7 separate regions of the Homo sapiens genome follow, and regions 2, 3, 4, 5, 6 and 7 are each linked to region 1. Evidence: promoter capture Hi-C in human tissues and cell types (Jung and others, 2019). All regions are on one chromosome and are shown on one strand. The core of a region is centred on a gene start or on the middle of the fragment in contact, and the rest is flanking DNA. Distances in the headings are between cores, read along the strand shown. Region 1 holds the start of FOXG1 (forkhead box G1). Region 2 overlaps PRKD1 (protein kinase D1). Region 3 overlaps PRKD1 (protein kinase D1). Region 4 holds the start of LOC102724934 (a long non-coding RNA gene). Region 5 has its middle 350 kb from the start of LINC02326. Region 6 overlaps PRKD1 (protein kinase D1). Region 7 overlaps PRKD1 (protein kinase D1).

What was found. Contacts are between HindIII fragments. The study calls those that stand out against the background at their distance.
Region 2: a fragment that was not itself captured here is called in contact with the fragment with the promoter of FOXG1 in region 1 in 4 of the 25 tissues and cell types used here (bladder, liver, lymphoblastoid cells and 1 more).
Region 3: a fragment that was not itself captured here is called in contact with the fragment with the promoter of FOXG1 in region 1 in 4 of the 25 tissues and cell types used here (IMR-90 fibroblasts, lymphoblastoid cells, mesendoderm cells and 1 more).
Region 4: a contact is called between a fragment that was not itself captured here and the fragment with the promoter of FOXG1 in region 1, in 6 of the 25 tissues and cell types used here (bladder, dorsolateral prefrontal cortex, hippocampus and 3 more).
Region 5: a fragment that was not itself captured here is called in contact with the fragment with the promoter of FOXG1 in region 1 in 2 of the 25 tissues and cell types used here (dorsolateral prefrontal cortex and mesenchymal stem cells).
Region 6: a contact is called between a fragment that was not itself captured here and the fragment with the promoter of FOXG1 in region 1, in 2 of the 25 tissues and cell types used here (dorsolateral prefrontal cortex and liver).
Region 7: a fragment that was not itself captured here is called in contact with the fragment with the promoter of FOXG1 in region 1 in 1 of the 25 tissues and cell types used here (hippocampus).

The regions. Positions count from the first base shown.
Region 1 is chr14:28,764,317-28,768,036 of GRCh38, reverse strand. It overlaps FOXG1 (forkhead box G1), which reads right to left and starts at 1,250. Exons shown (of 1, transcript NM_005249.5): 1 at 1-1,250. The coding sequence starts at 757. FOXG1-AS1 (FOXG1 antisense RNA 1) reads left to right here and starts at 2,718. Exons shown (of 7, transcript NR_125758.1): 1 at 2,718-2,877. RefSeq lists an enhancer at 1,595-2,119. The HindIII fragment of the contact is 7,501 bases long and covers 1-1,801 here.
Region 2 is chr14:29,670,987-29,674,762 of GRCh38, reverse strand. All of the region lies in intron 2 of PRKD1 (protein kinase D1), which reads left to right. Among named protein-coding and RNA genes, the nearest start is that of PRKD1, 250 kb to the left of the region's middle. The HindIII fragment of the contact is 5,612 bases long and covers 1-3,776 here.
Region 3 is chr14:29,603,681-29,607,702 of GRCh38, reverse strand. All of the region lies in intron 13 of PRKD1 (protein kinase D1), which reads left to right. Among named protein-coding and RNA genes, the nearest start is that of PRKD1, 320 kb to the left of the region's middle. The HindIII fragment of the contact is 8,723 bases long and covers 1-4,022 here.
Region 4 is chr14:29,391,659-29,395,507 of GRCh38, reverse strand. LOC102724934 (a long non-coding RNA gene) reads left to right here and starts at 3,465. Exons shown (of 7, transcript XR_001750707.2): 1 at 3,465-3,759. RefSeq lists an enhancer at 2,366-3,849. The HindIII fragment of the contact is 4,226 bases long and covers 1-3,849 here.
Region 5 is chr14:29,417,747-29,421,883 of GRCh38, reverse strand. No RefSeq gene overlaps it. Among named protein-coding and RNA genes, the nearest start is that of LINC02326, 350 kb to the right of the region's middle. The HindIII fragment of the contact is 3,046 bases long and covers 791-3,836 here.
Region 6 is chr14:29,714,764-29,718,762 of GRCh38, reverse strand. All of the region lies in intron 2 of PRKD1 (protein kinase D1), which reads left to right. Among named protein-coding and RNA genes, the nearest start is that of PRKD1, 210 kb to the left of the region's middle. The HindIII fragment of the contact is 4,614 bases long and covers 1-3,613 here.
Region 7 is chr14:29,697,202-29,701,316 of GRCh38, reverse strand. All of the region lies in intron 2 of PRKD1 (protein kinase D1), which reads left to right. Among named protein-coding and RNA genes, the nearest start is that of PRKD1, 230 kb to the left of the region's middle. The HindIII fragment of the contact is 4,665 bases long and covers 1-4,115 here.

The sequences.
Region 1 (3,720 bases), core at 1-2,500:
TGCCCTTGCCCGGGTCGTCGTAGTGGCGCGGCACCTTCACGAAGCACTTGTTGAGGGACAGATTGTGGCGGATGGAGTTCTGCCAGCCCTGCTTGTTCTCGCGGTAGTAAGGGAAGTTCTTCATGATGAACTCGTAGATGCCGTTGAGCGTGAGCCGCTTCTCGGGGCTCTGCCGGATGGCCATCATGATGAGCGCGTTGTAGCTGAACGGCGGCTTCTCGTACTTGCCGTTCTTCTTCTCGCCCTCCTTGCCCCCCTCCCCGTCCTTGCCGCCCTCGCCCGCCCCCTTCTTCTCCTCCCCCCCGGCGCCGGCGCCCTTCTCCTTCTCGTCCGGCCCGACGGGCGCCAGCTCCCCCGGCCCGCCGCCCGGCTCGCCCTTGCCGCCCAGCCCGTCCGCTTTAGCCCCGTCCAGGGCGGCGGCCGGTGGTGGCGGTGGCGGCGGCGGGAGCAGCAGCTGCTGGGGGCCCTTGTCGTCGTCGGCGGCCGGGGCGCCCCGCGTCTGGGGGGGCTGCGGTGCCGGGGGCGGCGGCGGCGGCGGCTGCTGCTGCTGCGGCGGCGGCGGCGGTTGCGGGGCGGGCGGCGGCGGGTGGTGGTGATGGTGGTGGTGGTGGTGGTGGTGCTGGGGGTGGTGGCTGTTGTGGTGGCCGTGGCTCGCGTGGTGGTTGTCGTTCTGGACCGCCTCGGGCACCAGGCTGTTGATGCTGAACGAGGACTTGGGGATCATTTTCACCTCTTTCCTATCTCCCATGTCCAGCATCACCCAGTCGTCGGGGGGAAACGGCGGCGGCGGCGCGGGAGCGGGACAGCGGCGCGGCGGGCGGCGGCGACCGGTGGGTGCCGAACGGGGCGCGGGGGGCGCGGGCGGCAGCGGCGGCACTGAGCGCTCCGGCAGCAGCGCAGTTGGACCGCAGGCTCGGGCGCTGGCAAGTCATGTAGCAAAAGCAGCAACCACCCCTCAGGAATTAGAAAAAAAAAAAAAAAGGAAAAGAAAAAAGAAAGAAAGAAAAAAGAAACAACCACCGCCCCGGGGGTGAAGCTCCCTCGCTCCCAACTGTACTTCTTGGTCTCCCCCCCCACCCCCCGCTCCCCCCCCCGCTGCTTCCTCCTCCTCCTCCTCCTCTCGCAGCAGCAGTCACAGCAGCAGCAGCAGCAGCCCAAAGGGGGGGAGAGCCGGGCGGCGGGCGGGCGCGTCCCGGAGCGGCCGCGGCGAGGCTGGGGAGACAGCGATCGAGGCGGCTATAGCCACAATTAATTTTCCGAGCTACAGGCGCACACTAGGGCTGTAAAAAAATTTTTGGTTTAACCTTTCCTACCGCTGGGCCAATCAGAGCTGGCGGCGTGCGGGAGCGTCTCTCTCGCCGTCGACCAATCGGAGGGGCCGGGCCCACCCACCCCCGCCCCGCCCGCCGGCTGCCGCCCCCTCGGGCGCTCGCCTCCCCCTCTCCGCGGGCCTCGGACCCCGAGGCCGCGCGGAGCCGCGTAGGGATACGCCGGCGGGAGCACGCGGTGCCGCAGCCCTTCCCTGCGCCCCCGCCACCCCCTCCACCCCGCCGGCTCCGCTCCACCGAAATTCCCCTCCTAGGGCCAATAGCTCACATTTCCGGCTTCCTCCTCATTGTACTGGGTCATTTTCGTTTAAGCGTCAATATTTGTCCTTAGTGATTAAAGTTTGTATCCAATTTTATTTTTGAAAGCGGGGGTGGTGGTGGTAGTGGGAAGAGTGGGAGTGCAGGGAGAGGATGCGAGAGGGCAGGAAATGGAGGAGGTAGAGGCGAGGCACTACTTTTCCGAGTCGGCCTTGCAGGCCAGTGTCTGGCATTTCTGAGCCAGCAGGAAAATTGTGCCCTTTGTAGGTAATAGTCTAGCGCAGCTTTGGATAAGGGGGGAGATAAGGCCCACCGCTGGCGTGTGTGCGGGGGTGTCCTTTACTTCGGGGGAGGAGGGTGTGGGAGAGCTTTGGGAGCGATGAGATGAGGAGGAGGAAGTGGGCAGAGGAGCGCGGGGCCAAACAGGGGTTACTTACTCGATTCCTGAGGCCTGGGCGGCGGCGAGCTCCGGGCTCCGGCACCGCGGGGAAACCGGGACTGGGGCTCCGGGTGCTGCTGCGGCGGCCGGGGCCGCTCAGTAGTGGGCGCCTCTGATGGCCTTCCGAAATGAGAGGTGCCCAGAGAGAAAACAGTACCAAACAATCTCGAAATAAATCAGGTAACACATGCTATATACGTGTGTCTCTTCCTTTTCCTTCTCTCCTGCTCCAGAGCGTCGCTCACGCGCGGGGTGACTCGATGTCGTTTTCTCCTCGCCGCTCCAGCCTCAGCTTCTAATCCGAATTGGAAGCGGGTAGCTGCGAGCGATCACCCTGGAAATATTTTCGTTTTGCTTGTTGACATTGGAGGGAAAATAAGGGTGGGCGTCTATTTCTTTCCGGTTTTTTTTTTAAGCCTTCCTATTTTCACTCCTTTTTTTTCCTTTCCGTTTCTCAAATGCTTTTATTTTGTGCGGGCCTCATTCCTGAAATAACAGTATACTGAAGCCAGCTCTTGCCAACCCTGAGTGCTGCTGGAAAGCACCGGGGAGCCTTGGGAACGTGGATCTCACAGTCCCAGCTTCTTGGGCTTTGGAACTGGGAAGGTTCGGTTGGAGGTTGAAGTGAATGGGGAAATTGCGAATCGGGGGCTTTAAAAGGATCCCGTGGCCAGGGGCAGGGCTAAGGCCCAGCATTTCCCAGGGATTGGAATTTAGTGGGGAGCACATTGATCAAAGGCTGTTTCATCCCACATGGGCACGAAACATACCACATTTTACGGAGGATGTAGCCCCAGAGAAGAGGGAGGTGGAGAAGCATAAATGAAAGGCACCTTTTCCTTCCTCTAGAAGGTAAATAATTATAAAATGTAAGCATTTCTTCACTTGGATAAACTTTCATTAAGATATCTGGCAGATTTGGTATTTAAGAAAACGAAGGAAGGAAAATTGGTGCTTATGCTTGATCCTAAAGTTAAATTGTAACATAAAGAATGCGGTTGATGAATACTCAGGATAATAGGGGGTTATTCCATCCTCCCCACCCCCAGTCTTAAGAAAGAGAAAGAGAGAAAAGGTTGGGGGGGGGGGAGGAAACTGGAGAGAATAATAGATAATTACAAATAGCTAGTGAATTTTAAATATGCATCTATTAGGAATGCCACAAAGGAGCTTTGAATATTGGACTAACCTCAAATGTCCTTCCACTGTATGTATGTATCTTTACCTATGTCTACATATCTTCTCACTTTAAAACAAACTGTATTTACATGTGGAAAAATTCAAGGGTTCCAACAATCAGTGTTGATAGTGACATGGTCCCAAACATTTATTTCCAAGCTCTGGATTTCTCGCAGGGCCGGGTGAGCTAATGGGCTTTGCCTACCGGCTGGAGAGATTTGTGGGCCTTCCCCTTCCTACTCACTTTTCCTCCTCCCACTCTTCTCCCCTCTTCAGGCCCGTTCTTCCTACTTTTCCTCAACTCTCCTTCCTCCCTCCTCCCTCCTTCTCCCTTAGCTCCCCCCGCCCCTTCCCCCCACCCTCCATTCCTCTGTCTCTCCATTCCTCCACCTACTCCTCCCAATTTCTCCTCTTACAGCCCCCCTTCTCACCACCACTTATAATGGCACACAGGGCTCCCTCTGAGGTGGACGGCCCGGTACGTTTTCGTAGTCGGTCTAGCGTGAAATGATTCGG
Region 2 (3,776 bases), core at 653-3,152, 910 kb before region 1:
ACCAACCTTTTGTAAGAAGTTTAAAGGTAATTTGTATGCTGGTGTTCCTCATGTAAATTAGGTCATTATCCTTTTAAAGGTATAAAGCCTCCTGTACACGATGGAGCTTTCTAAGAAAAATAGATTTGACCTTTCTTTCCCTCTATTCAGGGTGCCTGCAGTGCTTGCACTCATTAGCTAGAATTTGACTCCATGACATTTTTACTTAATTTTCTTTTTCTTCTACGTTGGACACATGGGGCAACCATTTATATTCTTTCTTGACCTGAGATGCTCTCTAATCTCTTTCCAGCTGTGGCATTTGTCATTCAGTCACATCAGGATATGGTGACCCTTCTTTCCCCACTGCAATTCCCAACTGTTAATTGATTCATTTTAGGGAAGGAACTAGACACAGCCCTATGGACCCAGCTCCATTTAATTAGTGTTAACCAGAACAGTAGATAGGAAAGCAATTTCCTCTGGAGTGGAAACATAGGCTTTATAAGGTAGTAGAAGAGACAAATAATACTAGTTTTTATAGCCCTTAGTTTTTAAGGGCCCTGAATTGGCAACAGACTTAGAAACAGCATTCCTCTCCATTAGTAATGATGGTTGTGACAATAATTATTATTATTAATAATAACTGTGATTCTAACCCAGGTCTTTCTGACCACAAAGCCCATACACTTCATCCTTGTGCTAAAAACTTTTTGTGACAGCTCCCACCGGTATGCCAAGGACTATACTAGTTACTTTGTGTCTTCCTCATAATCCAGTGAGATGCATCACACGAAGCCCATTTTATAGAAAGGGACACTGAGGTTCAGAGAGGTGAAGTAACTTCCCCCAGGTCATGCATTTGCTGTGACCAGGATCAGAGTCCAGGTCTTCCCTGGCACTCAGTCCATGCATTTTATCACTACTGACACTATATTGCGCTTAGAATAGAAAGGTACTAGCAAAAACATCTCTGGAAAGCACTGCTAGACACTTTGTAAACTGTGATCCAAGATATTATTCTGATGGAATTTACTTTTGAACTTGAAATACTTTATTTACAGATTATTAGGACTTCAATAAAATGTAGAGCCTTAGAACTGCAGGGAAGCAACATGTTTAACTACGAGAATTAATCACTTTAATATGTGCCTGCACAGTTAGAGAAGTTGTGGTCTTGCAGTGTGTAATGTTATGTGTGAACAGATAAACAATTAAGGGGTGGCAATATTCAGTGATACATTTTATGACAGAAGTGTCCAGGACGCTATGGAAAAGAGAAGAGGGCAGTCTTTTGCAGGTGGGGGTAGGCATATCCCAGAATAGGCGACACTGAGCTGAGGTGTGGATCAGGTGGAACCTGGCTGCCTGAGAAGTATGTATGCAAAACAGAAGGAGGGATTGACGTGAAAGACGGTGACGCATTCTTAGAAATGGCTGGAGAAAAAGTATGTTGAGGAGAGTATCCTTGGCCAACTAAGTATGGAGGTAGATGGCATAAAATAATCCCATTTTCTAGCTCTCTCGTCCTTTACTACATAAAGGCTCCATTTTGTAAACATACCTTTATTTTTTATAAAGCTTTTAAAAATAAATTTATTTCTTTTAATGGACAGATAATAATTGTGCATAGTTTGTATCTATTTTGTTCAAGCAACATCTTCCTGGCAGGAGGCGTTGCTGCTTCTAAAGCAGATGTTTTGCAGCAGCCATAGAGCTCAGCTGCCTGGAAAAGAAATAAAGGATCCTTCACGTGTTAACTGTAGCTCTGTGGGTTCATGAACAGATCCTAAGCTATTTCTTGAGCAAGGCTTTAGCCCTGCTATCAAACACTCCTACTGTCCCGGTGCATCCTTCTGGTTTAAAAAAATGAAGAGGAGAATTTCTTTTTTTTTTTCTGAGAAGGAGTAAATACATGTTAACTTTCTTAATTTTCATAATAGAACATAGGCCTGGTTACCTGCTTGTCTGGAATCTAAAACTGCCTGGGGAATCTCTCCTTGAATGTTAGTAATTCTGTTCTATATACCTGGAGTTATTAAGCATAATTAGATTTCTGTGACCTAGAATATATAATTATTATAAATAAATCTACTGTAACTATGCTGAATTAAAGAGACTATTATATGATTCCTTGGCAAGTCAACCAGTAGTGCCTACATGGTCATGCTAATGAGTCTTTTTCATTTGATTTCTTCCATCACTGCAGATTTATGACCTCTTGTTTCTAAGTCATCTTGTCACCAGAGATTTAATAAGGATTCACTCTGTTCTCTTCTAGTTTTTCTATGATTTTGTGTTTTTATTTAACTTTTTGCTCAGCAGGTAATTATTTTAGTATAAGAGAGGAAATATTGTTTCAAGTAGTATTTTCCCCTATGTTGCTAATCGTTACTAATTGTTAATTATTTTATTTTATTTTATTTTATTTTATTTTTTTTTTGAGACAGAGTCTCGCTCTGTCACCCAGGCTGGAGTGCAGTGGCACGATCTCGGCTCACTGCAAGCTCTGCCTCCCAAGTTCACGCCATTCTCCTGCCTCAGCCTCCCAAATAGCTGGGACTACAGGCACCCACCACCACGCCCGGCCAATTTTTGTATTTTTAGTGGAGACAGGGTTTCACTGTGTTAGCCAGGATGGTCTGGATCTCCTGACCTCGTGATCTGCCTGCCTTGGCCTCCCAAAGTGCTGGGATTACAGGCATGAGCCACCACGCCGGCCAATTGTTAAATGATATCTCCACCTTTGACATTGATTTCTGTTAAGACTTACAATATTTTAAATATATACATAGGGTAGATTTCTGGGTCACTAATTCTAGCCTGCTTATCTCTCTCTTTTATCTTTCACAGCCACCCATATTTTAAAATATCAACATTTTATAGAATATTTTGATATCAAGTAGGGCAAAATTTATTTATTACTCTTCTGTTACTTTTTTCTATTCTTATTAGAATATGTTCTGTTCTTCTTACAAAAGGGCTTTAGAATAATTTCATTAAGCAAACAACATTCTGTTAGGATATTGAGATAGATGTTTTCTTAAAGTTAAAAATAAGCTTTTAAGTACTCATCTATAATTCATTTGGGCCTATTGAAAATAATTTCTTTAAAGCCCCTTTCTCATCCATCCTAGACTTTGTTTTCTTCTTGATATGTTACTTCTTCCTATTTTTTTTCTTTTAGTTTAAAGATGGTCTATTTTTCTAGAAAAGATAAAAACAAAAATATAATTGAATAGCTTTTTCTATTTTGTCTGTTAGCATTAAACTATTTATTTCTGAGTTTGAGGCCTATCTCTGCTTCATTCTTTCCACATGAAACACCCAGCTGAAAAGCCTTCTGTTCTCTTTTAGCTTTTAAAAAGCTTCAGCTTTTCCTTCTTTTGGCCTTCCTAGGGTGGTTCTCTGGCCGGAGCCACTTACTTGCATTCAACCTGACTCTGTGCTGGTCCTTCTGCTGTTGATTCTTTACTTTTCTGAACATGAGCTCATCAGACAGTTCCCTGGGCAGTCACAACATTTATCTAGTTACCAGTCCCTTTTCTTCCTAATTAGGGCAACTTGCTATTGTGTTCTCAGTCTGGCTTGTGAGACCTTTTTCTCTTGTAGCCATATTTTTTTTAATCTCTAACCACAAACTTAGGAAATAACTTCCCAGAAACTTCTGAGCTGCCTAGTCAACCTATCTAAATACATTTTTTTTTCTCTCTTGGCTACTATGATCTCTGAGATGATATATTCACAGCCTCCCAAATTCCCATCATTGCACCTCACTAACAATTTTCTGGTCAGAT
Region 3 (4,022 bases), core at 1,089-3,588, 840 kb before region 1:
AGTACCTTCTCCAGCTGGAGGCAGAAGAGATGAAGTAGTCACAAAGATTCAAAGTGTGAGAAGGACTCCACACGCAGTAGCTGGTTAGATGTGGGGAGCAACATCATGAGGAATTCAGGTAGCTTCAAGGAGCTGAGAGAGACGCTTGGCTCACAGCCAGCGAGGAAACGGGGACTTCACCCCTGCAGCCCAAATAACTGGATTCTGTCAACAACCTGAGTGAGCTTGGAAGCGGTTCTCCCTCAGAGCCTCCAGATAAGAGAGCAGCTTGCCATCAACTTGATTTCTGTCTATGAAACCCAGACCAGAGAAAACAGCTGAGCTCACCAGACTTCTGACCTACAGAACTGTGAGATAATACATTTGTTGTTTAAAAACACACACACACAGTAAGGGGAAAGACGGGGATTGACTAACTAGAAGGTGCAAGTCTGTGGCAGTTCATACTTAATCTGATAGAGCCTCTGTTGGGTGAAAGGCTAAAGGAAGTTTTCTTCTCTGTGGCTTACTACTGTAAACTTTCAGTTATCAAACTAAAGGGGGACATTGGGCCCAAATCATTTTTAAATGCCATAAAATTTACCCAGTAGTAATAATTAACCCATACTATGTGCCAGGCACAATTCCAAGTATTTTGTTCCATTAAATAATGAGACCTGACTGTGTTATGAGTTGACACATTACTATCATCCTATTTTACATAAGATTTGGAAGCACCTCAGAGAGTTTAGATAACTCACCTGAAGGCAGAAGCTGGGAAGAGGCAGAGCTGGAATTCAAACTCAGGACATCTGTCTTCAGAGAACTTGCTCCTGAAATTAAGCTCCAGGTTTCCAGGCTTTCCTTGTAGTCAAACCTGTTCTGGGTTAAATAAAAAAATAAGAGGAGTTGAAAGACCTTTTCTAAGTAAGAAGTAAAAGAGGTACAGTGGTCATTATCATCTGAATAGCCCATTTTCAATTCTTTATTCTCATCCTCAGGACAATGATGGAATCATAGTAAGGTTTTCACAATGTAAATGAGGGTTGGCATGGAGGGAAGGGAATATCCTGACTGTGCTGCTACTTTGCTTATCTCTTGCTGATAACTGTTTCCTGGTGGCTTTTGAGAATGATCTGAATCTAAAGTATCTCCTTATTAAGAGCTAGATATTAAATAAATACAAGTCTCCTAGAGCATAGGAAAATCATGTTTCTTCCTATCAAAGATGTTGAAATCTTTACAAAAACACTGATCAAAATTGGTAGATTTTGAGGGGGTTGTACCTAAAAAGTGAAAGAGACTGTCTTTATCATATCCTTGGTCCTAGAGAAATCATTGCAACTCATCAGTAGTGGCATCTCTGAGAATCACATCCATATTATTAGTATTTATCAAAAAAGTCATTATTGGCCAGGTGTGGTGGCTCATGCCTGTAATCCCAGCACTTTGGGAGGCCGAGACCAGCAAATCACTTGAGGTCAGGAGTTTGTGACCAGCCTGGCTAACATGGTGAAACCCCGTTTCCACGAAAAATACAAAAATTAGCCAGGCATGGTGGCGGGCACCTGTAATCCCAGCTACTTGGGAGACTGAGGCAGAATAATCTCTTGAACCCGAGAGGGGGAGGCTGTAGTGAACTGAGACTGCACCACTGCAGTCCAGCCTGGGCAAGAGAGTGAGAATCTGTCTCCAAAAAAAAGGAAAAGAAAAAAAAAGTCATTACTTATGATCATATTTGTCATCAGACTCCTGAAATTTCCGACTAACAGATTTAAGAGAACTCAATTAAAAAGCCATGTGCTGTATTTTTTTCTGAAGAGAGGCTATCACTATATATCGTACTTGATGCAAAATGTACTATCACTAAATATGTCGAACACGTACTAGCATATCTAAAAGCCATGGAGATCTTAAAGAATATTATTCACTTAATGAAAAGTAAGGAGACGTAGAGACTCTTCATCTTTCAATCAAATTTAGCAAATGTGTTGAATATTTAGTATGTATCAGGCACTAGACTTATATTGACTGGGAATACAAAATGATAAATTATAGCTCTTATGGAGCTTGTAGCCTTGTAAATAAGACAAATAGGTTCACCAACAACCAAATATGGTAGGATAAGTGTTATGAAAGGGGATTATAGCAAAGACTCTGAGAGTAGAGAGACATCCAAGACAGACTGGGAGAGTCAATAAAAGTTACCTGACAGCTGAATATTCACACCCGATAAACGTTCGTGGTCAGGCTGAAGGGTAGTATGTATGAAAACATAGAAAGGAGAGAGTGTGGCTTGTTATAAAAATGGTTTTAGGGTGGCAAAAAGGGTGGATATTTGGGTGAAGAGACAAAGCTGGAGAAATACTTAAGCAGAGAGAGAAAAAGGAGCTGATTTTGAAGGGTTTTGTATGCCTTGCTAAGGGTAGGCACCTTATCCAGAAGTTGGTGGTGATTCATTTGTGGGCTTGAAGCAAGATGGTAGCATCAGAATCACCTTTGGGAAGATCACAGTGGCAGCCTTTTGAAGAATGGATTGGAGAAGAAGACCTAAGGCCAGATCAGTTGGGATGCTGTGGTGGATCCCTGTAAAAGAGATGAGGGCTCGAACCAAGGCAGCAGAGGTGAGGATGAAGGTAAGGGGTCAGTGTGAGAGATGAAGGAGGTGGGCTCTATTACTTTTAGAGACCAGTGGGTTGTTGGAAGTGAAAGAGAAGTTAGCATTTAGGATGAGCTCAAGGTTTCTGACCTAGGTGATTCGCCATTTGCCAAGCGAAGAAATACTAGAAGAATAAGTTTGGGTGGAGAGACGCTGATGTCATTGTTGGACCTCTTCCATTTAAATGAACATACCCCAAAGACAATTGAATATAAGATTGTGGAATTTAGGAGATCTTATCATATCAATTTGGGTATTATCTTTAACAAATACTTTTATAATTGTCTGTTCTCTGCAAGATGACTTTTTATTCTCTATCAGGTAAGTATAGTCTGTTTCCCTTTAATAAGGCGTTTAAGGATTGTGATTTCTAAGACCTTGACATGAAGCATAAATTATAAGAGACAGTAATTAGAAAATGGATAAGAAGGTGTGCTCTTCTCTTGACCCTGGCAAACTGGCAGGAATGAGAGTCGACAAGGCCACTGCTGCAGTACTGTACCTCATGCCCCCCACCCATTCCATTGTGTGATGGAATATTCTTCCTTCTGATCTGCATACCATTTAGAATTTAGATCCTAGGCTCATCACTTTTATATTTAGTTTTTCTATCTCATTATGAACTAAATCAGTTTGTTCTTTGACAGAAAATTAGTCAGAGGTCCCCATATTAAGACTGCACTGCTCCTAAAGACCTATTGCAAAGATAGGTTGAATCTAATTCTCCTCTTTCCTACCTCTCATATGTTTGAGTAGAATAATCCTAAAGGTAGAAGGTGGAAACTACATATATGGAATAAATTATAAACTCTAGATTTACAATAAAGCAACAATGTTAGACTTAAAGAATATTAGTACTTAGATACCAATATTAAAGAATATCCTTTAACACAAATCAAAAAATGTAAATGAGAATTACGTAAAAACAAAAAAATTAGAATTAGTCAATTCTTTATTTTCTTGAGATATTACTTTTATAAAAGCTTTTGATTCTAGTGACTAATTTCCATTGATTATATACACATTTTCTAGGCAACTTGGGTCAGGAGAGTTTTTGTCTTGATCTACAAACGATATTTCCTCCCAGGCATCGAAACAACTTATATTCACCCCGTGAATATGTCATCAATCTGTTATGTGTGAATGGACACTATTTTTTCCTGTACTTGGCCAAATGTTTCATTTCCTGAAAATTAAATTGCTTAAATGCAACAGACAGATGGCCAGAGAGTCCTGTAGTAGCTTGCTCTGCCATGAAATTTATCTGCATTTCTGTGGAAAGCCTGAGAAGTTGGGCAAAACTCTTTTTGCACACTACTATGCCATGATTGATGTTGCAGTCTTCTTGCCATTTTAAAATTATTAATAATTCTGTTACTTTGGA
Region 4 (3,849 bases), core at 515-3,014, 630 kb before region 1:
AAAGCAGGATATATAGTTACCATAAGAATTATTTCTCCATTTATTAATTCAACAGACACTTTGCTAAGTAATTAGGTAAAAAAATGAAGAAGATAAATTCCTGTCCCCAAGATTAAGACCATGTAGGTGAAACATATATGCTTTTATTAGGAACTAAGATAAAACTCTTTGTAAGGAGCACAAAAGAAAGGTTTCTATCTCTTAAACATGATGGGCAAAGATACTGTTAAGTCTTTAAAAATCCATAGAGTTGAGAATAACACTCTCACTCCCATTTGACAGCTGGGGAAACTGAGGCTCATGCTACTCAGCAGGCTAATAGCAGATTTGAGGCTAAAGCATATGGCTCCTTGAGTTCCCGTCTATAACTGTTCATTCCACTATGTTATCCTTACGGGAATTGCCAGAAGGAAAAGATATGAAATGCTAGAGATTTGGTTTACTTTTCTGTGGATACAAAGGATAGCGTGAAACTTATTTGTGATTTATTTTCCTCCCAATGAGAGAGAAGATCTAAATGGCCCAACTTAGCCACTTGTAACCTGCTTTTTAAAGCTTTGAGATATCGTTTTTTTTTTGTTTTTTTTTTTTTTGGAAGACGCTAACACAAATTTTTCTTGTGAGTCAAATCTCATGACAAGGGGAATTGCAATTTGCATACTGCATTACACTGAGGTAACCGAGTCTTTCACTATACTGCATTAGAATTCGAATTTTATTATATACAAGTATAGCAAAAGCAGACTCAACTGTGTATACTTAACTGAAGTCCATTATGAAAATATTTTTCAGAACATGTTTTATTATATCTTAGTAACCTACTTGCTAGCAGGATGTGCTAGCCCATAATATCTAGGGTGAGCGTGCCATCATGTAGGAATAAACTCACTTAGGCACACATAAAGTTGTCAAGCTATTCTGCCATTCATTATTTATCCACTGCTACTCATTTCATTATTTGTTTAGTTAACTCTTTTTTTAAGTCATTCATAATATAACCATTAAATCAATCAAACTAATCTATCAATCAAATCAATCAAACAACACTAATACCTGAACCCTGTTTTTAGTATCACTTCTTGTTGTGATTTTAGTATAAAAATATTAAGTCTTGGAGATGGCTTATCAGTTCAGTGTGTTTATTTGGAAGATAAAATTTTGAAGATAAAAAATGGTAATTATAAAAAAGTAATAAAATGTACTGTCTTTGAGGAGGAAAGTGCAGCACTTAGACAAGACAATAGCCTACGTTCTCTGACTGATAGGAGGATATCACATTAGATGAAAATGATAAGATTTAGTAGACTGAAGAATAACTTCCCCTTGACAGTGCCCTGACCCTTGACCTGTGTCCTGACTCTTGTTGGCTTCACTAACACAGGGCAATTGTCACAGGTGTAGGATAAAAGACATTTCTGTAGAAGCTACCAACAGTTAGAGATTTATTTCTTTTGATTATCACTAATGTGCTGTTGGGATAAAACCGTAAGTTGTGACCTTCTCTGAGCTATAAGGACATAAAAATTTACTCACAAGAAAGCAAAATTCTAAATGCAAAGAGCTTTCTTTATTGTTTGGCTGGAAGAGCGCTATGTAACAGAGAAGGTACATGCATCGAGGCAAAATGATGGCAAATGTGTTATTGTCATTACCCTGAAAACGTGTTTCAAACATAATTGTGATACAGATCTAATAAAGAATATTCCATTTATCCCTGCATTTTTATAATTCTTAGTAAACTCTTACCATGTCATACCCTGGAAGTTTGTCCTGTTCTGAAATTATTCTTTTGATTTATATGCTAATCATCATTTAAAAAAATCAGTTCTTTGACTTTTATTTAAATTTTCTGAAAGTGGTAGCTTTGTGAGTACTTACGGATGATGTGGTAACAATTGTGATTTCTCATGAAAGTTAATGCCTCCTGCTGTAAGAAAATATATTGTATACTCCTTTTTAAGTAACACAAGCAAGAAATTCAGAAAATACAGTGAAGCACAATGAGTTATGTGAATCCATGTTATAAGAGAAGAATATTGCAAGGGAAAAACAAATAACTGTGACAACCATTAAAGTAAGTAAATCCATGATTGAAAAGGAAAAAATACCTGCAGAAGAATGAATTTTACAGGTAAAATGAAAATGACTTCACAATTCATTAAAATAAAGTCAAAGCAGCAACCTGATAGTGTTTCCCAATGTTTTATCATGAAGGAAATGGAGTCAAGTTTTTGAACACTTGACATGATAAAGTGATGTATTTCATTATTCTGTTTAGGGGGCGAGGGGGATGTAACACAAGAATCATCCAAATGTTTGTCACTTAATGTAAAAAAAACCGTAACAATTTCCTTGCCATAATAGATTTCCAGGACCCAATTGCTATTCAAAACTGTGTGAAAGGCATAAAATACTTTTAAATTCATTGAGGGTTCTTATTCAGGTCATAGGTCTTGCCCTTCAACATTTTTTATCCACAGCATGTTTTGATGACACAAAATTGGTATATCTAAGCTTTAGGATACTCAGTCAAGGAAAATACAAAGATTACGTTTATCATAAAGTGATTCTATAGGTAAACTACTTCAACTGATTTAGTAAAGGTGTAGCTAAACCCATTTGTTTCCAAAATATCACACTTTCTTTTTATTAAATCATGAAAATAAGGGATTATAATCATGTAACTTATTGTCATGCATACTTGCTAAAATAATGCCTTCTTCCCAGACTACCATCGTTGCAAATGTGATGAGATCATCAGGTAACAGAGTAGGATATGAAGGCTTAGCGTGCTGTGTTGTTAGCACATTAAAAAAAGAAATTGCTGGGATAATTAACAACTACCTATTTGTCTGTGGGATGCATTCATTATGGCTCTACAAATTGGAGGTCTCCAAAATCTGTGCAATAAAATTTACTCTTTGTTCGCGAAGTTCCCCTTGGATTTGGGGAAAATTCTGGTTTGCTGTGTCTATTGTAATTGTGACAGGCAGTTGACATGTCTCATAGTCTAAATGTAGTGGCAAGCAGGGGGTGGTACAATGATGAAAAAACTGCCATTCATTCTTGTGCAAAGGAAAGGTGTTTCTTAGCATATTCCAACCTATGTTCAGACTAGAGTTGGGTCTTTGGGGTTGAAGGTCAAATCTGTGAGGTCAAAGCTATTTCTTGTCAATCTTCGTTCACTAATGACACATGAATTGGAAATTAGAACAAAGTAAGTAAAACGAATAGCCAGAAGGTGAGTGTCTGTTTTATTACTCAGAAGAGCTGGGAAATCTGGCCAATTGTTGCCCTATGTGGCTTGAATGACAGTTGTTAAGTTGAAAAAGGGACAGTGTGATGGGAATGCCACTTTAAATCTCAATTACCTCCTCCACTCCAATCAGCTTGGTAGAGCTTTAATGAAGTGCAATTCTCTGTCCTTTTCCTCATACTTCTATCTCTAGAATAAGCCTCACATTCAAGTTTGACAGCAGTACAATCAGTTTTCCATTCATCACTGGCCCTGTTTTAACCCTGCTGAAAAAGGGCCTAATGTACGTGGCAGTGATGGCAATTAGGCAGAAAAGTAATATTAGAAACAGACAAAAGCCTGAGTCTTTTAGCATTACAGGTGTTTTTTTTTTTTTTTAGCCCGTTCTAGACATAAAGGAATAGGCAGTGTTGTTAAGTTCCCTTCTTCAGTCTTCTCTTAAGCTGAAAGTCCAACGATTTCAAGATTCAATTAATTAGAGACATGGAGAGCCAAAGTACAAGGTAAAAGCTAAGTTCTTTCTAACTGAAGACACACTTAGTAATTGGCCCCTTATTCAAATGGATATCTTCTGGGTGTATGTTTAATAAGGT
Region 5 (4,137 bases), core at 1,064-3,563, 650 kb before region 1:
GCATCAGGTCTAAATTTTGGAGGCTTGCCACTTTGTCTATATGTTCTGGTAAACCCCATGGTATTAGATGTATCAGTGGTGGAAGCATGGCATATAGGTTTTATATGTCCCAAAGGACAAATCACAACACAGATGGCAAAGGTTTTAAAGCAAGGGCATCCCTTTTGCAGTGAACAATTATACACCTTGTGAAAAACAGCTACTTGTATGCTTCTGGCCATTAGTAGAGAAGATGCCCTACCTGGTTGGTGGACTGAAGAGGACAGAACTGGCCATCTAAGAAAGCCTGACTTGTCAGCATTGTCTATTCCAGAGGACATTGCCTTGCACTTGACTCTTTCACCACTAGTCTGTTAACAAAGACAAATCTTGAAAAAATAATTTTGAATATGCTAAGTTGAACCATATGAAAATTGTGGGGATTTTTGCAGATAAAAATAATATCCCTAATTTCATATATTTCAAACTAGCAGAGAAAGATTAACTGACATTTATTCAGTGCCTAGCATATGCCTAAGATATGATGCCTTCCTCTTTCCCTCCTTCCTTTCCTTTCTCCCCTTCCTCCCTCCCCCCATGTCTCCCTCTTTCTCTTTCTTTCTTCCTTCCTTCTTTACAATATATTTTTCATCTGTTGTATGGTTTGAAACTTTTATTCCTTTTGAGCTACTAAATGCATTTGTATTTTTGCAGCATATACTGTCTTGTATTTTGCAATTATGGTTCATAGTTATGATTTTAAAATTGCATGAAAATCATAACCATCTCAGTTTTAAATGGCCAGCTTACACATTGATACAAAAACTTCTTTTAAGAAGTCCCCCAAATATATGAGGCACACATCAATAAATATATTATTAGAAACATGAAGGCAATAAAAGCAAATGCTAAGGAATTAGTAAATAAAGTTTCCCCGGGTTGAGTACAATTCTAGCCAACAGCACACATTAATGGTTTAGTTGAAAGCATGCCTGACTTTTGGTTCATTCTTTCTTTTTATTGTTAAGGTATCCTAAAGACAAAATAACACCTCTCATACCTAGAATTACCACCAACTAAAATTTTGCACTGCTAAAAATGCACAGAATTGCGGGGGAACTGCCCTTGTCATCTGTTAAGTTATACAAGCACGTATGCTGCTGAGAGTTAAGAAACATCTCTCTTCAAAAGAGAAGGACAAGCTCCAGTACAGGGAAAACCAAACTGTACTATTTTTTTCCCCCTCACAAATGGTACAATAAGGTTAGCCCAGTGATTTTTTATTTAACATAGTTGGACACATTATTAATATTAAGAGGCTTCTTATTCTACTTTATTTGCTATAATAATTGCAGAAATAACTGCAACTAATAAAAAATTCCAAAATATCCATTAAGGAATTTATCATAGATGTAGGCTTTTCATTTCTTGTTTTTAAAATAAGACCTTAACAGGAAGAATTATATAAGTATGAAGAAAAGGACATTAAAAAGCAGGTAGTCCAAGTTCTTTTATTTTTCAGATGAGAAAACTGGTCCAGAGAAGGGGACTTGATGATGCCAGTGACAGAACCAGGATGATAACTCGCATCTCCTGATTCTCTTGCGCTTTATTTCATCACACATATGAAAGAAGATGAGAAACGTTCAGCATTCAGTAGTGGGGACCACTTTGAGATTAGTTTGTCAATTGCCATATAAGTATGCTTTTGCTTGGTATATCTGTGTAAAGCAATATGTACTCTATGTACTAAAGGTACATGATAATTGTGACTTGAGGACAATACAAAGACTGACTGGTTTGTGATTAAACATTTCACATAGTAGTAGGTGCTTGGATATTATTATCTTTAAAACAAATGTAAAACTGATTTCAAACTAAAGCATGAGTATTTTAACAAATATATCAAATATCAGAGAGGAAGGAGGAAGGATTTTAGAACAATGAACCTGGAAAATGTGATTATTTTTGACATGTTTTCACATTCCTACAATACAAGTCACTTGATAAAAATGACCTAAAAAGTTTTTCTTTTTTTTTCTGTGCCATCTTCTCAGCTCCCAACCATGTCATTTTAACTAACAGAACTGCAGCCTATTTGTACTTTTTTCCTTCTGCATCAGTTTCGATTCCTTTTTATATACTTGCTTTTATCTAGGTGTCACATTCTCTCTAAATGATAGATTGTAATCTTAGCCATAGGAAAAAAAAAAGGAAACTTAGAAAATGGATGGATTTGATTTTAAGAGATGTAGGCTAGGCACGTGGCAGCTACAGAGAAGTGAGCCTCTAGTGAATGCTAGCATTATATGTGTTTTATATTAACCCTTGGTTCCAAGCATATAAAAATATTTTGTAAGAAATTTCTTCATGTATTTTGTAAAATTATTGTAAAAGTCCTTCCTCCTCAAGTCTCTGAGGATAATCCAAAATCTTTGGCAGTTTTAAGAATCAGGAATATGAATTTTATTCTCAAATACATTTCATCTCTCACTTTAATTATGTGTAAAGTGGTCATGTATTCATTTATATATATATTTATATATATAGAAAATTTACTAATGTCATATAAAGGAAATATTTAGCAATGTGAATGAGAAATGAATAAAACTTTCATAGAACCTATAGTCTAATAGAGGAGGCACGGAAGTAAAGAGACAATTATAACATAACGTGACAGACCTTAACCATAGGGGTGTAGAAATAGTGCTGGAAGGAATAAAGTTGTGGCTTCTGTAAAGCAGGGACTGCGCTGAAAACATGTTTTGGTTTTGTTAAAAAGAGCATATCTGCTCACTGAGTTGAAGTTCTGTGCATAGACAGATGATTCAAGGATCCTCATTCAATAAATCAGGAAGGCATCATGCTTTCCAGTTCTTATTGACAGTGTGTAAAATAGATTTTAAAAACAGCTGAATCTAGAGGGGGAATGCAGGGCAAATCAAATTATTTAAATGATTTCTCCACCCCAGTGAAGTTTAAAGAACCATATTTAGAAGAAGAATCTAATTTCACATGCAACTGATTAAGTTTTACATGAGTTTGAAAGGGAAATGGTTTGGGGCATGAGAGAAGTCGGGGAAAATGTCAAATTCTGCTGAACCAGATTTCCCAGTGTGGTTTTATTTTCAGTTTGTAATGGAGTTTCAGAGTCTCACACTCACGTTTTAGGTATAACTGTTAACACAGAAACCTATTTAATAGTTATATAAAATATTCTTAATAGTATTAACAATGCAGTTTCTTCATTATTTGAGCAGATGATTGAGAGGTGATTGTTTTGCAATGAGAATCTTCCATAGAATACAATCAGTACCAGTTATTGAGACCTGTGTCAGGCACTGTTCTACCTGCCTTATATGTGTTCATTCATTTAGCTTTATAACATCCATAAAAAGTACAGGAAAATATTATCTCTATTTTATGGATACAAAAAGTTAGGTCAGAGAAAGTGCTTTCCCAATGTCACACACCTATTAAGTGGTGAAAATGTGATGATCTCTTTAAGGAGTCACTTTTCAATCTCAAATTCAGGAATTTAAATTTTGTATTCAAGCTTCCACAGATCTATTTTTAACAATAGGCCTAGATGTTCAGAGAATATTTTAAAATTTTTATGTTTTCTGGATACACTTTATATTAGGAAACTTTGGATTTAATTATCTGAGATGATGTAACCCCACTTTAAAATTTGATTTTATTCAACCAACAGGAATAGCAAGGAGACATGTACTATCAGACATATAATGAAAATAATCATTAGAAGGAAAATTGACATATACTATTTTTAAATAACTCACATTTATTTAGTGTATTACAGTTTACAAAGCACAAATATCTGTCTGTGTTAATCTTACACTTCTTCTTGCTACCATATTTTAATTTGTACCAACATCTTGCTTTATGTATTCTTTTACTTTCTCTCCATGTATTTCCACCAGTTACTCTTTTCTCTATTTTTATTTCTTAGAATATTTTGGTGAAAATTTAGCTCAAAAGTTCTAAATGAGTAAGGTCTTTTTTTCCCATATGCTAATCTTGGGGACTAGTCTTCATTCTGGATCACCGTTATTGATCCACACAGTGGTTTAAGTTTCTTTCTGAGCCTGGGATGGAGACAGGTAGGAAGGCAGAATGAAGTTCTATACACACAGAAGC
Region 6 (3,999 bases), core at 57-2,556, 950 kb before region 1:
GGCCTTCAATGCTCAATTTATATTTCCTTGTGTTTGTACTTGGACATCTAAGTGTCACAGGCTGAATGGAGCCAAATCTTCTCTAACTTCAGTTGCAATTTTCTTTGCAGGTGGTTTTGTAACAGTGGAAAATCTAAATGTGAAAATACACGTCATTTCTCTTTTCTCCCAAGTATGGCTTATGTTAAATGTGTCTTCAGCATTTCCTTTTTGTGATTGTTAATATTCTCTTTCCATTCTTATCTTTCAAGTAAACCTGTGTATTAGTCCATTTTCACACTGCTATAAAGATACTACATGAGACTGGGTAATTTATAAAGAAAAGATGCTTAATTGACTCACAGTTCCACATGGTTGGGAGGGCTCAGGAGACTTGCAATCATGGCAGAAGGTGAAGGGGAAGCAAGGACCTTCTTCACATGGCAGTAGCAGAAGTGCCTGTGAGAGCTCAGGGAAAACTACCATCTATAAAACCATCAGATCTTGTGAGAATTCACTCACTATCACGAGAACAGCATGGGGGAAACCACCTCCATAATTTAACCACTTCCCTGCCTCGACACGTGGGGATTACAATTCAAGATAAGATTCGGGTGGGGACACGAAGCCTAACCATATCAACCTGGTTTTAATTTCTTTGTGCCACACTAAACCATTTTCTCAGAGAAGAGAATGCAGACAGCAAGCAGATTGGAATGTTACCATAGACTCCCACTTTTCCCTACTTGTGACTTCAGTAGGGATATTGTGCTTGGTGCACTTCTTCCTCACTTTGATAGTTTTCTTGGTTATTTATCTCCTGATAAAATGGATTCTCCAGGGAGGAGATGGAGAAGCAATGACACAATAGTGCATTGTTTCTCCATCTATTTTTCCTCAAGCACCCCTAAATATCAAGGCAGAGGGAAGAAATTCTGTCCAGGTCAACTGGGGAATAAGACAAACCCGGAAGTGAAAAGTCTTGAAGCCTCTTATTTCATATGAAAATTTTATGCACATTTTCCATTCTGCTGCATTATATTCTTCATGCTGTATACTTTTAAATAAATAATATTTCTTGCCACATATTGTTCTTTTAGAAATAATAATAACAATAGTGATGTTAATATAACAATAGTGATGGTAACATAACAATAGTGATGGTAATATATTTATGATATGTTATGCACTGTTCCAAGTGCTTCACATATATTAACTCAGAAATATGCATCATATTTATGTTATATCTCCACATAGCTTCAATTTCATAAGTAGTTGATTTTCAGTCAATACTTTGGTTTCAGTCCCAGAGTTGTCATTTATTTCTTATATAATGTTCAGCAAGTCACCCCATTTCCCTGAATCTTGATCCATCTGCTGTAAAATAACATTAACAGTATCTCCAATATATGGTTGGGCTGTAGAATTCATGAGAATAAATATAAAGCATTTCACAAGATGGTTGCCAAATGTAAAGTACTCAATCCTCTTACCCCACCTCCACCCCACTGCACTACACATTTCTTGAAATAGGAACGATTTATTTTAATATTTGAAACTTTAGGATCTGGTATATCACATGCAATCAATATCTATTTATTGAGTGAAAGAATGAATCCTTAAATCAATGAAATGTACAAGCCAGCAAATACATGAATAATTAAATTGATGTCCTATGTATGATATCCAAAAGTTAATGTTGTTGTATAGGAATTGAATTTTATTAGTTCTTCTTGACATAATCTATTAGTAAAATTAATATTATCATCTGATTAATTCTTCTTTTTCTGGACTCTTGTTATCTCCTAAATATTGTCAAAAATGTCTTTTAGAAAATTGCTTATTTATTTTTAAAAGTCCTGTTTTTAAACATTGCAGTTTCTTTCACAGTATTTCTCAAGCAAAATTATACTTAATTCATGGAATACCAATTGTTTTCCTAATTTCTATGATTCCTGGATTGTGTTCATCACCATGACCAAATAACCCCATTTGCTATTGTACTAAATTCACTCTTCAGTGAATCAGTTTTCCCAACCATTGCTCTTTTCTTCCTAAATATTCTTGCTTTCTTTCTGAGATGTATTCAGTAGTTACTCCTTTTTGATGTACCCCCCAATACTCATCTCATTTGACTTCGTCAATTTATTCATTGTCTTTTTCTTTCTGGAGCCTCTGTGTTTCATATCTTCGTTACAGCTCCTAAGAGGTGGCCCTGGAGATGGCCTTGGGCTCTGGCCTTTCTATTTCAGAGTCTGGAAGGAAAGAGGATTGATATCCTGAGGTCTGGCTGACCTCTCCTGCTGTTCCTTCTTCCCCTCCTCCTCTGTAGTTTTATCCATTTAGCAGAACAGCTGTCCCTGCCTAAGGGTCAGCTGGCAAGACCTACAGAAAAAGTTGAGTCATGTGCTCCAGAACTGGATTCTAAATCTCCATAGATCTCTGTCAGCAATACATACCGTGGTTTTCATGGAAGGACATATCAAGCTTCTCTCTTCACACAGAATTAGCCTAAGGCCTAGTTCCTCAACATCTGGCAAGTGGATTTTCAGCCAGAAATTACTGTTTCTGCTTCTCTTCTCTTTTCATCTATTACTGTGCTAATTGAAGACAGTATTATAACTGTCACCCATGAAAACAGGAAAAGAACACGAGGGCAATGAAAACCACACAAAGGGGACTTTTGTCTCTATGCTCTGGTTACTGTGAAGCTAAAAATTCCTTATATTTGCTTCTTAGAATGGAAGTTTAACGGTCTGGTCTAATTTATGTAAGTGCCATGTTAGGGCCTTGATGGCACAACAGGACTTGGATATTAAGAATCATTCTAAAAAATATAGTAAGGCATTAGCTTGTTATTTTTGCCTTTTTATATAAATTGGCTTCTAAAACGCATGTGGCTTATTTACTAAATTTGACTCTGGATTATTTGGGGTTTATTTTCAAAAATATCACAATCCATGTCAAAAATGAAAGCTTGACACATAGGATATAATGAAATGGATGAGTTATAGAATCTGACAATACTATGAAAAATGTTTTAGGCAATTACAGTATCTTTCAAAGAGGGATTATTTTGGCTCACTTTAATAAAGAGGTGATAGGATTTGTTTTTAGTTAGAATGTTTGAAAAAACCTTTGGTTTTCTGCTGAATTGGACAGCACAAATTTCTTGTGCTTGAGGCTTAAACTAGAGAATAACAATGTTTGGGTTTTTATTTTGTCTATTTGTTACAAAAGCATGAAATTCCATTGATGAGAATTGGCTGAGAGATATGCAGTGCAACCATTTATCTAGGTCTGCACAGTTCATTGTGGTAGCTTTTAACCATATGCGACTATGTACATTAATTAAAATAAATTAAAATGCAATCCCTAAGTCACAATAGCCACATTTCAAGTGTTCAATAGAGACATGTGGCTAATGGCTGCCATATTGATATAGAACATTTTCACTATCTGAAAAAAGTTCTATTGGACAGAGCAACTAGATAAATCAAATTTTACTCCAAAGAGGGTATAAACTTGGATCACACTGTTTACACACATGCACATCCTGCAGAAATACTTTTACTAAAATGACCTTCAATGTGACATATTGAATGATGTTATGAATAACACACTTGTAAATTTTGGTAGCATATTTATTTATTTTATTATTTATTTACTTTTTAAATTATACTTTATGTTCTGGGGTACATGTGCAGAACATGCAGGTTTGTTACATAGGTATACATGTGCCATGGTGGATTGCCGCACCCCTCAACCCGTCATCTACATTAGGTATTTCTCCTAATGTTATCCCTCCCCTAGCCCTCCATCCCCCAACGGGCCCCGGTGTGTGATTGTTCCCCTCCCTGTGTGCATGTGTTCTCACTGTTCAACTCCCACTTATGAGTGAGAACATGCGGTGTTTGATTTTCTGTTCTTGTGTTAGTTTGCTGAGAATGATAGTTTCTGGTTTCATCCATGTCCCTGCAAAGGACATGAACTCATCCTTTTTTATGGCTGCATGGTATT
Region 7 (4,115 bases), core at 1,016-3,515, 930 kb before region 1:
TAGATTTTTGGGCCTCACTCCTATAGGTTCTGATTCAATATGTTTGGGGTGTGGCCAAGAACATACATTTCTAACAAATTTCCAGGTGATGCTGATGCTGCTAGTCTGAGAATCATACTTCAAGAGCCTCAGTTTTAGATAAAACTTTGGTAAGGAAGTTCAAAATGAAAAGATCAGATATAACCACCTGAATCTACTTATCAATCAGTACTAAAGTAGACATTGTGGGCCTCAAGATGTTATGCAAAATGAAGTACACAGTTCTGAACTCTATTAAGTAGGATTCCCAGAGTTCCCACACACAACAGGGTGTGTGTGTGTGTGTGTGCGCGCGCGCGCGCATGCGCACGCGTACACACAAATGCCTTGGGAGGAAGGGGAGGGAGACAGCGAGAGAGCGAGGGGAATTGGTACATGTGATTGTGGAGGCTGACAAGTCCAAAATCTGTAGGATAGGGTAGCAGAGACCCAGGGAAGAATTGATCTTGCAGCTGGAGTCCCAAGTCTGCTGACAGAATTCCCTCTTCTTCAGGGGAGGTCAGTCTTTTTTCTGTTAATGCCTTCAACTGATTGGACGAGGTCCTCCCATATTATGGAGGGTAAACTGCTTTACTCAAAGTCTACCGGAATCTCATCAAGAAATACCTTCACAGAAATATCTAGAATAATGTTTGACCAGATATCTGGAGCATAATCTAGCCAAGAAGGCACATAAGATTAACCGTCACACAAACATAAAGCATTCTTGCCCAAAAAGTTGAACCTGAATTTAATTAGTCCTCCAGAGGTAACTTTCTTTTACATGAAATACAGAAAAAATAGGAAGAAGTTAAATGAAAAAACAAGGAGCAGAAGTGATTAGGCTTCTTCTACGTGTCAGCAGCATTTTAAAAATGAAGAAAAAGGAGGTGGACTTCTCTAGATCAAAAGAGATTTAAGAGACATAATAACCAAATGTGATATATTGAATTCATTCAGCTCTTATTCAAACAAATCAATTATAAAAACAAGTTTTAAAACTATTGGGGGACATTTGTTTATGGAGTAGAAATTAGGTGATATTGATAATTGAAATTGTTAGTTTCAATTAATATGATTATTGCATTTTTAATTATGTATGCGAATGTCTGGTTTTTTTAAAGAAATGTACCCTAAAATTTGTAGGGGTATAATGACAAAATATCTGGAATTTGCTTTAAAATACTTCAGCAAGGGAAAAAAAAAAAGAAGGGATAAGCTAAGCAAATATAGGAAAATCTTGATAATTTTTGAACCTAGTGTGGGAAATGGGAGCTTACTATACCTTTCTTTCTTTTGGTTTTAAAATCTTTTAAATAAAACTTTAAAATACCAAAAAGAATACATTCCAAAAGAAGAATGATAAAGGAGCACTTACTCTTCCAGATATCAAAATGTACTACACAGCTAATAATTAAAACAATGTGGTTTTGCCTTAAAGACAGATCTGTAGCCTCCAGAAAGAGATATATTTGTGTATAAAAATGCAGTGTCACTTTGAATCAGTAAAACAAAGAATGTGTTATACCATAGGTGGGGTTGGAACAATTGGATATCTATTTAGAAAATAAATTCTAAGCAGTTAAGAACTAAGAAACAAAGTCAAAACTCTAAAATATTAAGGGAAATCATTGCCCTATTCAAACCTACTCAAATATTTAAACTCCTAAACAATTAAAAATACCTTAAATATAAAGCTTTAGCATAAGAATTGGAGAAAACTTTGCCATAAAAGGCAAAGGATTAACAATTAAGATACACATGGAGCCTCATTCAGAAATAAAAACAAGTAAATTAATCAAAGGAAAAATTTGCAAAGGTCTGGACAGTTTACAGAAGAACTAAAAATATGTGAATACAAATGGAAGATGAATACGCAATTGAAAAAAAATGGCCAACCTCATCTGTAATCTACAAAGTGCAAATTAATCTTTCACCTAGCAGACAGTCAAAAATTAAAAGCCCAGTATTGGATACAGTACTGATGAGGGTACAGGGAAATATGCAGCCTCACAAACTGTTGGTTGGAAGGTAAATTGGTAAAGCTCTTTTGTTAGGCAACTTGATAGTACTTTTCAAAAATTGTAAAACAAAAAGTCATTGACCAAGCAATTCATTTTTACTCTTTAGAAATACTTTCACATGTAGAAATACTTCTTATAAGGATATTAGCAACAAATTAGAAATCCGCTATGGTAAGTACCCATTGGTAACCAAATTTTGATATGTCATTGCCATTAAATACTATATAATAGAAGGAAGGCTGAAGGAAATCTGTAGTGATTGACATGGCAATATTCATGGCATTAAGTGTAAAAAAGTAAGCAGACTGTATTCGGTGGATCGCACCTTGTCAAAGGCTATACTTAACCACGCGAATCTGTTTTTGCACTTTAGCATCTAACAGGAAAAGGCATTCTTTACTTCATCCCCAACACAGTTTCTTTTACTTCATGAGGTTAGTGCAGGCTGAACATTGTGATGTAATTTTAAATAGGATCCTGGATGCTATTGATTTTTGCCCTTAATTTTAGGGAAAAGAGACCACGATTAAGTCAGTTGTCAAGACTCACAAACCAGCAAGCAGCTCTGTCACACATTGCATGGAGCTGTGTCCAGGAGGCACTTACATTATCAAATGGCTTTAAATGCAAGCAGATGAAGGTGTAGGATGACGTTCTATAGAGGAAGGAAGGCCAGCCCTTTCCCAATTTCGAGAGTTTTAGAGTTTCATTATTAGAGAGCTAAAAAGGAATTGGAAAAGTTAGGTTTTTATGTACTATTTAAACTTATATGACAAACTGGAAAGCAGAAATTAAGTTAGAAGGCCAATCTGTATCTACCGTCTAGGATTTTTCCTTAAGAAGTCATTTTTAATATATCTTTTCTCTCTTGTCAAGCTTGATAAAGCTTGCTTTGTGAAATTTCAAAACTGTAAAAAAGAAAAAGCTTTCCTTATAAATAATACTGTTATACTTGTTACTTTGCTCTCTTCATTAAAAAATGACATCCTGAAGAACCATCCATAGTTTGCTTAATTTTAGTAATTTAAAAAGTTGTATATCATATGTGATTATCCAGATAATAGTGATTATAAACATTTGTTTATGTTTCAAATGTCATTTTTCAGTTTTTCCAAAACTTAATTTCAAATACCCAACTCTTTGAAATGGGGAGACAACAGGTTAGTGCTGTAAATATCTATGCATTGACAGATTCCATGTGAATACTGATAACAGTGTTTGGGAAAATTTGAAAGATAAGATGTAATCAGAAAAACACACTTCAGTAAAGTTTATTTGAACATCTCTTGTTTTCTTGTGAATTTTGACCTCAAGTTACTTTAGAAATGCATAGTGCATCTTCAGATACTGCTCTACAAGTTTGAATAGCATTTATTCTCAGGTGCTCTGTCTTCTCTGGCATATAAAATTACAGGGTTCTTATATAATATCAAAAAAGCAGAAAGTCGTGGGAGTTATACAATTTCATTATGTCAAACAGGAATACATTAAAGCTTACTGTTTGTTAAAGTTAAAAATACATTTGCTGAAATTGCTGGAGAAATTCAAGCACAATCATGTCAAAAAAAAAATGAAAAGGAACTAAAGTGTGATCTTCTAAAATTTTCTTAGTCCAATTCATGAAACGACATTTTATATTACAACATTATTGCCTTTCCCAAAAAGTGATTTTGCACATAGATTTTAATAAAATAGATGTTTGCAATGGGTTAACATACTGCTAAGCAGTGACTGTCCTGAAACTACTTTGTGGAATTTAAAATGTTAGTAAAAGCAAATCTGCATACATGATGCATACCACACTGATTTTAGAAAATGGTAATTCGGATGAAATTTTAGCTTTTAATTAAATGTTTAATCTTGTGTACATGTATTCATTTATGCTATAGAAACGTTAGGAGTTGTGCTAATGCTGTTATTTGCTCTCTGAGTATAAGAGGTCATCTGCCTTGGAACATGGTATAAGAAGAATAGTTTTCAAAAGATAAAACTGTATATATTAGTTCATGACACCATGAATTTAAATTACATTGTCAGAGTAGGAATGGATTTAAATATAGGTACATTTTTGTT